Regions from separate parts of the Homo sapiens genome. Here region 1 is linked to region 2. The links are contacts of gene promoters, found by promoter capture Hi-C in blood cells and fetal thymus (Javierre and others, 2016). All regions are on one chromosome and are shown on one strand. Each heading gives the region's core, a stretch centred on a gene start or on the middle of the fragment in contact. The rest is flanking DNA. Distances are from core to core; before and after follow the strand shown.

Evidence for each region. The method cuts DNA at HindIII sites, captures the fragments that hold promoters and counts their contacts. A CHiCAGO score of 5 or more calls a contact.
Region 1: the fragment with the promoter of PIGT here is called in contact with the fragment with the promoter of ZNF335 in region 2 in 1 of 17 cell types (erythroblasts); the score reaches 5.1 in erythroblasts.

What each region holds. Positions count from the first base shown.
Region 1 is chr20:45,411,284-45,417,566 of GRCh38, forward strand. PIGT (phosphatidylinositol glycan anchor biosynthesis class T) reads left to right here and starts at 4,858. Exons shown (of 12, transcript NM_015937.6): 1 at 4,858-5,060; 2 at 5,234-5,411. The coding sequence starts at 4,874. It overlaps LOC107985405 (a long non-coding RNA gene), which reads right to left. Exons shown (of 2, transcript XR_001754640.2): 2 at 1-5,534. The HindIII fragment of the contact is 8,427 bases long and covers 1,161-6,283 here.
Region 2 is chr20:45,968,471-45,974,723 of GRCh38, forward strand. It overlaps ZNF335 (zinc finger protein 335), which reads right to left and starts at 3,733. Exons shown (of 28, transcript NM_022095.4): 1 at 3,652-3,733; 2 at 2,740-2,990; 3 at 981-1,221. The coding sequence starts at 2,940. RefSeq lists a silencer at 3,245-3,364 and an enhancer at 4,135-4,354. The HindIII fragment of the contact is 10,906 bases long and covers 1-6,253 here.

The DNA.
Region 1 (6,283 bases), core at 3,608-6,107, 560 kb before region 2:
ATTCTTAGCAATATCTCACATCTAAGGTGGCTGTCAAAGCCCCAGCCATCATGACCTTGAGACTGGCAGAAAGCAGGAGAGGAAATGGGGGATGGGCAAAGAGGGCACAGCCAGTCTATTCCCATTTAGGAAGAAATTTTTGGAAGTTCTTTTTTTTTCCCCCAAGATGAAGTCACACTCTTTCGCCCAGGCTGGAGTGCAATGGCACGATCTCGGCACACTGCAACCTCCGCCTCCCAGGTTCAAGCAATTCTCACATCTCAGCCTCCCGAGTAGCTGGGACTACAGGCGCACACCACCATGCCAGGCTAATTTTTGTATTTTTAGTAGAGACGGGATTTCACCATATTGGTCAAGCTAGTCTCGAACTCCTGACCTCAGGTGATCCACCCACCTTGGCCTCCCGAAGTGCTGGAATTACAGGCGTGAGCCACTGCACCTGGCCAACCATCCTATAGTCTTCCAGCAGAGTCTCTCAAATCAGTGTCTCCAGATAGACGTGAACTCCTTGGCATGTCAAGTGAGGGGGTACTCCAGCCATTCTGGCTCCTTACATCCTTTTTGGAACAGAGGGCTAGTCACCCAGATGGGGAGTTTCAGAAAGGACCAGGTTTGAGAAGAAGGCCATAAATTTGGTTTGGGACATGTTGAGTTTGAGATGTCTTTGAGACATCCAAGAGGATATGTTGAGTAGGCCCTTGCACCCATGCATGTGGAATTTAGATAAGAGGATTGAGCTGGAAAAAGAAAACGATCAGTTCTCAGTGTATAGGTGGTAAGTGAAGCCATGGGTGCGAATGACAGGAGAGAATGCCCAGGGAGAGAATGCTGAATGAAAGAAGAGGTTATAGGACCCAGTCTTAAGGAACATCAACTCATTTCTCACATTCAAAAAAAAAAAAAAAAAATCAGTCCACCTCCCTTCATACATTGAACATCACCCATGGGATCAGTGACCTTCAGCCAAAATCCTAAAGCTTTTTGTGCCACCCAAGGTTGAGTGACAAGGCTGCAGTCTTCCTATTGTCCCATCCTGCTCTCACCCCTGCAGGAGGCCAGTGTAAGTATCTGTTCCTAAGTGTTTTTCCTAACACTAGTGAGAAACCTGTGGGAACTCCAGGGAAGTAGGAGTGTCCACCAGCCATTCCCTGTCTCTAGGAAGCTTGTGGAGTGAATACCTTCTGTGCAAAAGCCTCTAGGTCCAAGTTGAGATCATCCACTGAGCTGGGCCAGGGCCCAGTCCTCTATTAACTTTTGGGGTTTTTCTGGGTTGCTTATGACCTTGCTGCACATAGAAGACATAATCTCTGTCCTCTTGTGGCTTCTCTCCTTCCTTCCTTTAGAGTAGCAAGGTTCTATCTACCTCCTGTCTGACTGTGGCTGAGCCATCTCTTGGGCTGCGGCCCATGATCCCAATAGCTTTGCTGTGCAGGGCTTCTCAGCTCCCAGGATCACCCCCCTTCCTTCCATGGTGAACGATGAGAAGCTAGACTGGCTTGGTTGCCGTCAACATGTCAATAAATCTCTTAGTAGCCCAGGCACATGATGCGAAGATTGTGGGGAGCCTGCCTTGAGAGAGGGATTTACAGCCCTCTAGAGAAGTAGAATTGTTTCTGAGCCTATGGGGAGCCTTCAGTTTGGCTGCTATGAGCCCCAGCCCTGCCTGGAAAAGTCTAGTGTCAGCTGAGACCCCAGGACTACTTCCTAGTTGGGACAATAACCTTTTCTCCTGCCGAACCACAGGGGCTTGGCTGGCCTTCAGAACCATCATCTCCAGCTGACTGTTTTTTGTTTCTTTGTTTTTTTAAAAAAACTTATGGGGGTTTCAAACGTACAACAAATATAGAAAGAAAAATATCCCAGGTTCTCATCATACAGCTTAAAAAATCATCAAAATAGTACCAAGATTGTATCATCTACCCACCACATATTTTTAGTGGAAAGACATTTATGATAACTCTTGAAAGAAAGAGTAGACTATAAAACACCATATTCAATATGGTCACTTTTTAAAAAAATGATAATCTTCAGATTCACCATTTGATTATAGTGTTGCATTAAAGTTAAACCGTGGTTTATGGCAGCCCAGAGCCTAGCTGTCTGGTTTTTGAGGCCACACAGTGCCTTTGGAGGTGGGAGGAAGATCTGGAGCCAACTCTAAGTCAAGGAGCCCAGCTTTCAGTCTCCAAGCTACAGCGTGGCTTCTGATATTTGCACGGACTTGTCATAGGGTGGACATCCTGACACACTTCGGAAAGGAGGCACCACAGCTCAGAAAAAGTTTCCTTAGAAGGCTTACACTGTAGCAACCCCAGGAGTGCACAGAACTTGACACTGAACAGCATGGCAGAGTAGGGAAAATACAGAACTGTGCTATGATGTCATCTTGTTTGTTCATTCATTCACACATTACTGAGCACCTACTATGTGACAGTCACCTTGCTTAGGCAACAGAAATACTAAGGTGACCATGAGCTCTTCCAGGAGCAGACACAGACACAGGTAATGGAAACAATGTGATGAGAGATGTAGCAGAAGTACATGAAGCCTGTAGACCACTAGAGGAGGAGAAGGTAAGTCTTCACTAGAGGTGGCTGGGTCCTGAATGATGGAGATGGGCAATTTCAAAAGGAAAACAGAGAAGTACAAAATAGTCATAATGATGGCAGCTACCTTTAAAAAAGTATTATTTTGAGGTTTGATAGTGTAGACTATAGTCCTAGCTCCATCACTCATTGTAATCTTTATTATCTTAGTTTATGTACTTCTTAATAATAACACTCAAGCAACCCTATCACTTAGGCACTATTATCTACATTTACATATTAGTGCCTAGGTGACAGGGTTGAGTGTTACTATTAAGCACTTGCTACATTCCATATCCTACATGTACATAATTTCTCATCTTAACAACAACCTTGAAAGTAGGTTTCTTCATTATACAAATGAAGAAAAGTGACACTTGGGTTGATCATGCTCATATGGATTAAAGGCTGGCATAGGGATTTGGACTCCTGTCTTTCTGACATCTAAGCCCATGGCCTTCCTAATATTTCGTGTCTAATGGGGCAGGAACACTGAATGCAGGCAGAATGAAGGCATAATGAGATAAAGACATCTTTCTGACATTTCCTTTCTGGAAATGTCTGGTTGGTTGGCGCATATCTTGGCAGACCTGCCTGACACCAAATTGGCTCTTTCTAGAAGTGTGGTCATGAGTGTCACCAAGAGACTGTTCATGAAATCCTTCATGAATGTGTTTCCCATAGGGCAGGTGGAAAAACTAAAGCATGACTTTAACTTTGGAACTCCGAAAAAGTCAATAAAAAGACAAGCCAGTAAACAAAGGGGTGAGGGTGCAGAAGACTTTAACAGACCTTTCACAAAAAAATAAAAATTAAATTAAAAAATAAATGGCAAATAAGCACATGAACAGATGCTTAACATTTTTAGTTACCAGGGAAATGCAAATTAAAACCACAATGAGCAAACACTACATACATACCCAAGTGGTCAAAACTAAAAAGTACAAAAAATTAGAAACTTCAAATGCTGACCAGGATGTGGTACAATGGAGACTCATAGTTTATGGAAACATAAAATGATACATTTTGGAGAAAGGTCTGACAGTTTCTTATAAAATTAAACATACACCTGCTCTCTGACCCAGCAATTCCACTCTTAAATACCTGGCCAAAGGATATGAGAAATATACGTCTACAAAGGAGCTTGCACAGACAGCAGCCTTGTTAATAATAACCAAAAACTTTAAAAGTGCCCATCAAGAGTTGAATGGATAAATTAATAATACTACGCAGTAATAAAAAGAATTGTGGATACATGCAAGAACATGGATGATTCTCAAAAACATTCTTCCCATGAGAAAAAAAAAAGCCTTACACAGTATACATACTATATGATTTCATTTATATTTAGTTCTGGAACAGATTAATCTATTGTGGGAAAAAATCAGGGTACTAACTGCCTCTGGAAGGTGATAGAGGAGCAGGGATTGACTAGGAAAGGGTATTGCTAATTTTCTGGGGTTTTAGGAATGTTCTGTATCATGATAGGAGTTCGGGTTACATAGGTGTGTGCATTTGTCAAAACTCAGTGAATGTGTACTTTGGATTTGTGCATTTCACTGTATGTGAATTTTACATCAAAATGCAATCGAATACTGAACTCTAGTTAATTATATGCATGCTTAACTACTTAAAGGAAAGTGTACTAATGTCTGCAATTTACTTTGAAGTGCACCAAAACACAAGATGGAATGATGGATGTATAGACAAATATGTGGTAAAGTACAAGTATAGTATAATGTAAATAGTAGAATCTAGGTGGTGGAAAATAGGTTTATTGTAACAGGTGCTCATTCTTTCAATTTTGTTTGAACATTTTCGTAATAAAAGAACCACTTATTTGGGGGTTTTGCAGCAAATGGAGACACTAGAAGCTAAGAGGGGCAGGAGGTTCCTCTTACTTTGGGAAATGCAAATTAAAACCACAATGGTTTTCCCAAAAGTAATTGATCTTTTTCAGTCAATGTTTCCTCAACTATCAAATGGGTAAAATGGCAGTGAAGGAGCTTCATATTATTAAGCATTTCCTGGTGGGTGGAATACGCCATGAACTAGGTGCGGCCTCAAGCTGGTTACTCGCCCTGCCTACTCCCTCTCGTGTCCTCCCAGTACCCCCTTAGACCCACCAGCTCTGAGGGAATCTTCGCGACCTGCGCAGGCGGTCGCTCTGATAACCGCATCCCGGTTTCCGGGACGACAGCGGAAGTCACTTCTCACACGCCTTTCTTATTGGATACCGGCTTTTCATGGGGCCGAGCGCCGCTGGGTAGGCGGAAGTAGCCGCAGGCATGGCGGCGGCTATGCCGCTTGCTCTGCTCGTCCTGTTGCTCCTGGGGCCCGGCGGCTGGTGCCTTGCAGAACCCCCACGCGACAGCCTGCGGGAGGAACTTGTCATCACCCCGCTGCCTTCCGGGGACGTAGCCGCCACATTCCAGTTCCGCACGCGCTGGGATTCGGAGCTTCAGCGGGAAGGAGGTGAGGGCGCGAGATCTGACCAGGGAAAGATTTCCGTAGTGCCTGCTGGCTGGCCGGCCGTGGGATGAAGGCAAACTTTGGGGGCGGGGCCTAATTCCTGGGTAGAGTTCGGGATCCTGGGTGTGGACCCCGACGAGGTGGGGATCGTCACTCACCTGCTCCCGTTTCCCCAGTGTCCCATTACAGGCTCTTTCCCAAAGCCCTGGGGCAGCTGATCTCCAAGTATTCTCTACGGGAGCTGCACCTGTCATTCACACAAGGCTTTTGGAGGACCCGATACTGGGGGCCACCCTTCCTGCAGGCCCCATCAGGTGCAGAGCTGTGGGTCTGGTTCCAAGACACTGTCACTGAGTGAGTGCACACCTTGGGCCCTGTTGCAGGCCATGGAGGGAATGTGGCTGGGAGAGTGTTGTCATCCTGCCACTGCTCTTGGGGACAGCACTTCCAGTAGGCAGCGATTCCATGGGGGTAGAGCTGGCATTGGAAGTAAGAAATGTTACCACAGATGAATAAACTTCCCAATCCTAAAACTTTCAGACCTGAGGTAGCACATGCATATCCCTGGAGAGGCAAATAGCAAACAATTAATGCTTATTTGGAGGTAAGGCAGTAGAAAACTGGCAACTGGATAACCTTTTAAAAGGCATTCATTAATATTTTTTAAATGATAATAAATACCACGAAAGCCAACCATAACATATCTGTGGGTTACAACTGGCCAACAGGATGCTACATCACAGTGTTAGAGGAACTGCTTTTGTTTGGGAGGGGGCAGGTCTAGTTACTGTGCCTACTACAAACCGCTATTTCCCAGTGGCTGCTGTGGCTATCCTGTTTAGAATAGAACCTTTCTGTGCAGTGGTTGCAAACAGGTCTACATGGGCCACACAGGTAAGGAATGAATAAAGGTATTTTTAAAATTGACAAACACAGGAATGAGAAATATATCTCATTTTCCTCTTAATCCCACTATAAGAAATCAATAGTGCAAGTATGATATAACAAGTTTTAGGGCAATAAAAAGGAGCAGCAGGAATTGTGGCAGGCTAGAGAGTTTGTGTGACATTCTAACGAGGACAGCTCTGCCACTCAGCTTCTATGGATTGTTGCCATGTGGGAATAGAGGCCTAATGTGGTCAGAGTCAAATGTTTCTAAAAATTTTTTGTAGAAACAAGGTCTCACTATATTGCCCAGGCTGGTCTCGAACTCCTGGGTTCAAGCG
Region 2 (6,253 bases), core at 2,483-4,982:
TCTGGCTCCCATGTGCGACTGCAAACCAGCTGTGTCACCCCTGAGCCTCAGTTGACTCCCCTGGCAGGGCTGTCTGGAGGTCTAGTGTGACATGCTGACTCAGCAGCCGGCCCACACTTACACAAGATGCCACAGCTACACCAGCTGCCCAGGCTTTGACCACCAAACCTGGGAAGTCCTCCTTCCTCTCCAAACTTCTCAAAGTAAAGGACCAGCTCCTGCACCACTTTCTTAGGGTTGGCTTCCCAGACTATCCCAGGGCTTTTTGAGGTGCTATAGCCTCTATAAATATCATTAACAAAAAGTGGGTACAGCACCATGTGTCACGGCTCATGCCTGTAATCCCAATACTTTGGGAGGATGAGGCAGGAGAACTGCTTGAACTCATGAGTTCAAGAATAGCCTGGTCAACCCAGCAAAAAGGTGGTGTGCACCTGTAATCCCAGCTACCCTGGAGGCTGAGGCAGAGAATCCCTTGAGCCCAAGAGTCTGAGGTTACAGTGCACTATGATTGCACCACTGCACTCCAGCCTGGGTGACACAGCTCTGGAGTCAGACTGTCTGAGCTCATGGCCCGACACCCCACACTGCTTGCTGGTGACAGTGGGTAAGTTATGTATGTCCTTGGTGCCTCATATTTTTCATCTGGACTGTGAACATTAACATCCTCTACCTTTTGGGGTTATTGGGAGGATTAAATGAGCTACTGTATGTAAAGTTTAGAACAGTCCTGGGCACAAGGTAAGCAATAACAGTTTATATTATTTATTGAGAGTCTGTCATGCCAGGCGCTAGGCTGAGAACTTTACAGTGTTGTCTCATTAAATCCTCATTTACCACCATGAGACAGGGGTGACTGTTCCCACTCTGCACATTCCACATGGGAAAGTAATCTGCCTGAGTTCACACAGCTAGGGTGGGCACAGCTGGCTGCCGGACACTGCAGGAAAACCCCTGTGGGGCTCCTCTGCCTGACTCACTCTGGATGAGGTCGGGCCCGATGGTGGACTCGATGATCTTGTCGATGGCCGAGCCCAGGTCCGAGGAGGAAGCTGTGCAGTCGGACACCAGCATGTTGGGGTCTGGGAGTGCACTAGAGTGCACAAGTGCTGGGGGACCGCCTGTCACCCCTGCCACTGGCCCATGAGACACAGACGATGAATCAGGGAGGTAGCTATTAGGCAGGGGGTCTGCGCTCGAGCTGCTCTCAGATACCTCCTCCTGAGGGGCATGAAACAGGGAGGGAAAAAGTTTAGCAGCTGGGTATGGGGCAGGGCAGCCTGCCAGCTCCCACTTGCTAGACAGAGCTCTCAGGCCCAAGGACATGGTCAGTGGAGCCACTCATGCCCTCAGCCCCACGGAGGACCAGTGAGAGAGGCCCTCCAGTCACAGAGTCCCCCAGGAAAAAGTCACAGGGTCCCTGGATCTCATCAGGGAATACACAAAAATAAGAGAAGGGACTCCTAAGCCACAGCCAGGGGGAGCTATTTTCTTTGGGCTTTTGCATAAATCGTTCCCTCTGCCTGAAACTCTTCCCAGCATCACCCTATGGCTAAATCTTACCCAGCCTTCTCACCACCATTTAGCTGGTACCTCTTCTAGGAAGTCAATGCTGGCTTTGAGGCCAAGTCAGGACTTCTTCATCCTCAGTGCTGCAGCTGCCTGTGTCCCCAGCACCACACCACTGTGGGGTTCATTGTGCCTTTTAACAGCCTCCATGCCAGACTGTGCCCTCCACAAGGGCCTGGACCAAACTTGTCTTTTCCTCTGCTGTATTTCCAGGGCCCAGCACACGCTGAGCACATGGTAGGCCCCCATCTCTGCTGAACTAATGAAACCCCAGGACCCCAAAGTGATGACCACTGCTGTGTACTTCTATCACGTGATATACTGAATATGACCATTATCTTGCATATAAGAATGGCTAATACTTACTGAGTGCTTACAATGTGCTGAGCACTGTTTTAATTATTAGCTTTGCATATGTTAATTCATTTCATCCTCACAAAAACTCTATGAGGCAGGTATATTTACCATTCCCACTTTACAGACGAGGAAACAGAGCTAGATGTTGGGTAGCTTGCTCAAGATCACACGGCTAGGAAGTGGCACAGCCAGGAGGAGATGGTTTACAAAATGTTTGCAAGAGGATGTCTGGTGGGAGCTCACAATCAAGCACCCTTGAAAGCAAGTATTTCTGCTTTACTTTAGCCGGGATACTGAGGCTCAAAGAGGTCTCCCAGTAAACTGGAGGCAGGACCCAGTCTTAACCCAGGGCACTTGCGTTTTTTTTTTTTTTTTTGTAGAGATGAGGTCTCGCTATTTGCCCAAGCTGGTCTCCAACTCCTGGGCTCAAGTGATCCTCCCACCTCAGCCTTCCAAAGTGCTGGGATTACAGGCGATGAGCTACCACTCCTGGCCTAGACATCTGCCTCTCAAAGTGTGAGGACTGTGGGTAGTATAGTAGCTAAGACCACAGCCTAGATTTGAATCCTGGCTCTGTCTGCACTCTGTACCTCGGCATCCTTTTCTATAAGATGTGGGAAAAAATGGTATGTGTCTTAGAAGGTATGAAGCTCAAATGAGAAAATCCATTTTAGGGGTTTGGCTTGGTGCCTGGCTCACAGTAAACCAGAAACACCAAGTATTAGCTACAAACAAGCCTTGTTTCCTCTTGGCTGTCAGGCACTGCTGCTCGCGGTCCTTGCCTCCACCCACGCCGTCCAGCCGGGTCCATACCTGAGAACGGCTGCCGCGGTCCGAGCTTTGCCCCACGCCAGAGTCATCGGCCTCTGCCTGCCCCGGGGCGGCCGCGGCGTCGCTGCTGTCGGCGGACACGGCTTCTGAGGTGCCCACACCCAGGCCGCTCTCAGAGGGCTCCTCGGGCCGGCCAGGCCCAGGGGCCGCGTCGCTGCTGCTCTCCACCTCGTTCTCCTCCATCTGATCGGCGGGCTGCCTGACAGCGGGGCGTAGGGTCTGGGAACTTCACTCTGAGAAGAGAGGTGACCGTGGCTGGAACAAGTGGGCCATCTCCCCAGCCCCGGCAACCACGGCCACCCATTTGCACCCCTGCGCCCATTTTGCAGATGCGAAGATTGAGTCTCCGACGGGGCGGAGCTTCCTGGTGTATTGCGAGGGGAGCTCGGGAAAAACTTGACGGAGAAGCTGTGCTTCCCAGGCTAAGGCCCTTCCCGGGAGGGTGGTCAATGGCTGGTAATCTTGACCCTTTCCCTCGCCCCCACGATTCTCGTGGAGCGTTCCGCTCTGTGAGCCCCATCCGGGCCCAGTGGTTCAGCCCTTCGGCCCCCGCGTCCCCCCGGGTTGCAGGGCCGGTGGTACAGCCCGCTGGCCCCCTGGGTCAGTGGTTCGCTCCCCCCCGGTTCCCCTGCGGAGGCGGCTGACAGCGACGGTCTCGGGGCCTGGCGATTTGGGGCTGTCCCCGGCGCTGCCTGTGCTCCAGGCCCGACGCCATCTTGTGGTGGCGCCGGGTTTCCGCTCAGGCAAGTGCGAGAGCGACTAAAGGGCCTGGGACCCCGGGGCCCTGTTCGGACAGCCCCGCCGGCCTGGGACCTCGCCTCCGGGTATCCCCGCAGTGTGACCTCACTCCACGGCAGGGTACGGTGGGGCCGCCTAACTCTACCCGAAGCTCACCCGAGGCTTTCGTAGCCACGTTCCTCTCTGACTCCGGCATCGACGAGGTCGCCATCCTCTTTCCTCCGCTGCGGAGGAACCCATCGGCCTATTGTAGGCCGGAACTACTTCCCCCGCTGGCCCCGGGAAAGACACATTTTCAGTGTTCCGGAAGGTCGCTCCGAGGCCTCAAAACCATAATCGGGTCTCAACAGACTCTGGGACTTTATACGTCGCCCGGTGTTTGGCACTGAGCCCACTATGGTTTGGGGACTACTTTATCTCGGCGGAGTGTTACGTAGGAAGTGGTTGTGACGTCATTCTGGTCCCTTCCCTAGGCCGCAGGGTTGGGCGCGGCGAATGCGCGCCCCGCTCTCTTGGGGCGTGGCTCCCAGTGGGGGGCGTGGCTCCCGGTGGCTTGGCCGCGCCCCTCCTACAACAGCCCGGAAGAGCGTGTGGCCGCGGGCGACTTTGGCTTGGCCAAAGAGGAATTCATGTTGTCAGTCATTTTACCTGACTCATTACTTATTACTTAGCGCGCTGCTGCAACCCAATCGAGCTCTGCCCGTTAGGTTTGATGTGTTTTGTTGGGAAGGGAATGTATAATTATTGTACAGATAGGGAAACTGAGGTCTGGGTATGGGAAGGGCTGGTCCAAAATCACATCCAATAAAGGGACTCAGGAGCTAAGTACGGATGGCAGGAGTCGGGGAAATGGAAAGAAGTTAATGCTTGTCCCTTAGGTTTGTATACATATTTGTTAACATTAATAGAGCTGAGGCCGGGCGCTGTGAGTCACGCCTGTAATTCCAACACTTTGGGACGCCAAGGCAGGAGAATCGCTTGATCCCAGGAGTTCCAAACCAGCCTGGGCAAAAGAGCGAGACCCCATCTCTACAAAAAAAAGAAAAAAAAGAAAAATTAGCCAGGCATGGTGGCGCGTGCCTATAATCCCAGTTGCTCGGGAGGCTGAGGTGGGAGGATCGCTTGAGTCTGGGAGGTTGAGGCTGCAGCGAACCGTGATCACACCACTGCACTTCAGCCTGGGCGACAGAGCGAGACCCTCTTTCAAAAAATAAATAAATACAAGTCAACTACCTATCCTTTAAAAGTGGAGAAAGAAAAAAAATTTTAATTAAAAGTCAGCTGCCCTTAAGGTATGTCCTTCCTCCGGAAATGTCACCTTCTGTTTTAAGACTTTTAGCAGTTTGCAGTGGAAGAGCACAAGAGGGAGTAAGGCGCTCTGGTTTTTGTCCCTAAGTCTCTGTAGTTCCATAGGCTATTTTCCTTAATTGAAAGATACAAATTTTGGGGGAAAAAAATCTCAAAAAAACTCCTAAGCAGGCTGGGCGCGGTGGCTCACGCCTGTAATCTCAGCACTTTGGGAAGCTGAGTCGGGCGGATCACCTGAGGTTGGGAGTTTGAGACCAGCCTGATCAACATGGAGAAACCCCATCTGTACGAAAAATACAAAAGCAGCTGGGCGTGGTGGCGCATGCCGTAATCCCAGCTATTCAGGAGGCTGAGCCAGGACAATAGCTTGAACCCGGGAGGCAGAGGTTGCGGTGAGCCGAGATCACGCCATTGCCTTCCAGCCTGGGGAACAACAGCGGAAACTCTTGTCTCAAACAAACAAACAAAAAGTCCTAAGGAGAAGACCTATTAATAAGGAGAAAAGGTCCGGGCTCGGTGGGTCACACCTGTAATAACCAGCACTTTGGGAGGCTGAGGCCGGTGGATCACTTGAGGTCAGGAGTTCGAGACCAGCCTGGCCAACATGGTGAAACTGTCTCTACTAAAAATACAAAATTTCACTGGGTGTGGTGGCGCGCGCCTGTAGTCCCAGCTACTCGAGAGGCTGAGGCAGGAGAATCGCTTGAAGCCCAGAGGCGGAGGTTGCCGAGATTGTGCCATTGCGACAAGAGAGAAACTCCGCTTCAAAAAATAAATAAATAAATAAAAATAAAAAGGACAAAGGGTGCTTTGAGCTGTTATTTGTGTGCACTTGTGTATGAGGGGATTCATCTGGTCCTTTTCTTAGGTAAAGTTTTCTTTCCTAGGTTTCCCTTTTGGGTTGAGGGAATGGAACAGGAGGCCTCTGGATAGGTTAGGACCCTCATCCCCTATCCCTTGCAACCAGCAGGACCAGGCCCCAGAGCAGCTCTGAAGAGCTAGGTCAGCACTGGCATGATGACATGTTGGTTTTACTATCTCCAGGCAGTTTTCCCGTGTGGACCCCATTCCTCAGCCCTACAGAAGCATCTGCCCCCTCATGCCAGTAGGGTAGTAGGGTGCATCCTACATCTGACCAAGTCACCTCTCCCAAGTTTGGGGTACTCCGAAGTAGCCCCACAGTACCCTCATTCCCTTCCCCACTAAGACTGAAGCCTCCTAGGAGGTAGAGTCTGCAGTGAACTATGAGTGCGCCACTGCACTCTGGCTTTGGTGAGAGAGTGAGACCCTGTCTATTAAAAAGAAAAAAAAAAGACTCAACCTTAATCCTGGCCTTTGCCACAGCATCACAAGATTGCAGAATGTCATGGTACAGATGAAACAGACTCATCATGAAACCGAAGAGGAGCCCAAGGCCCAGAGGGGGAAAGCTAACAGCCCAAGGTCTCGG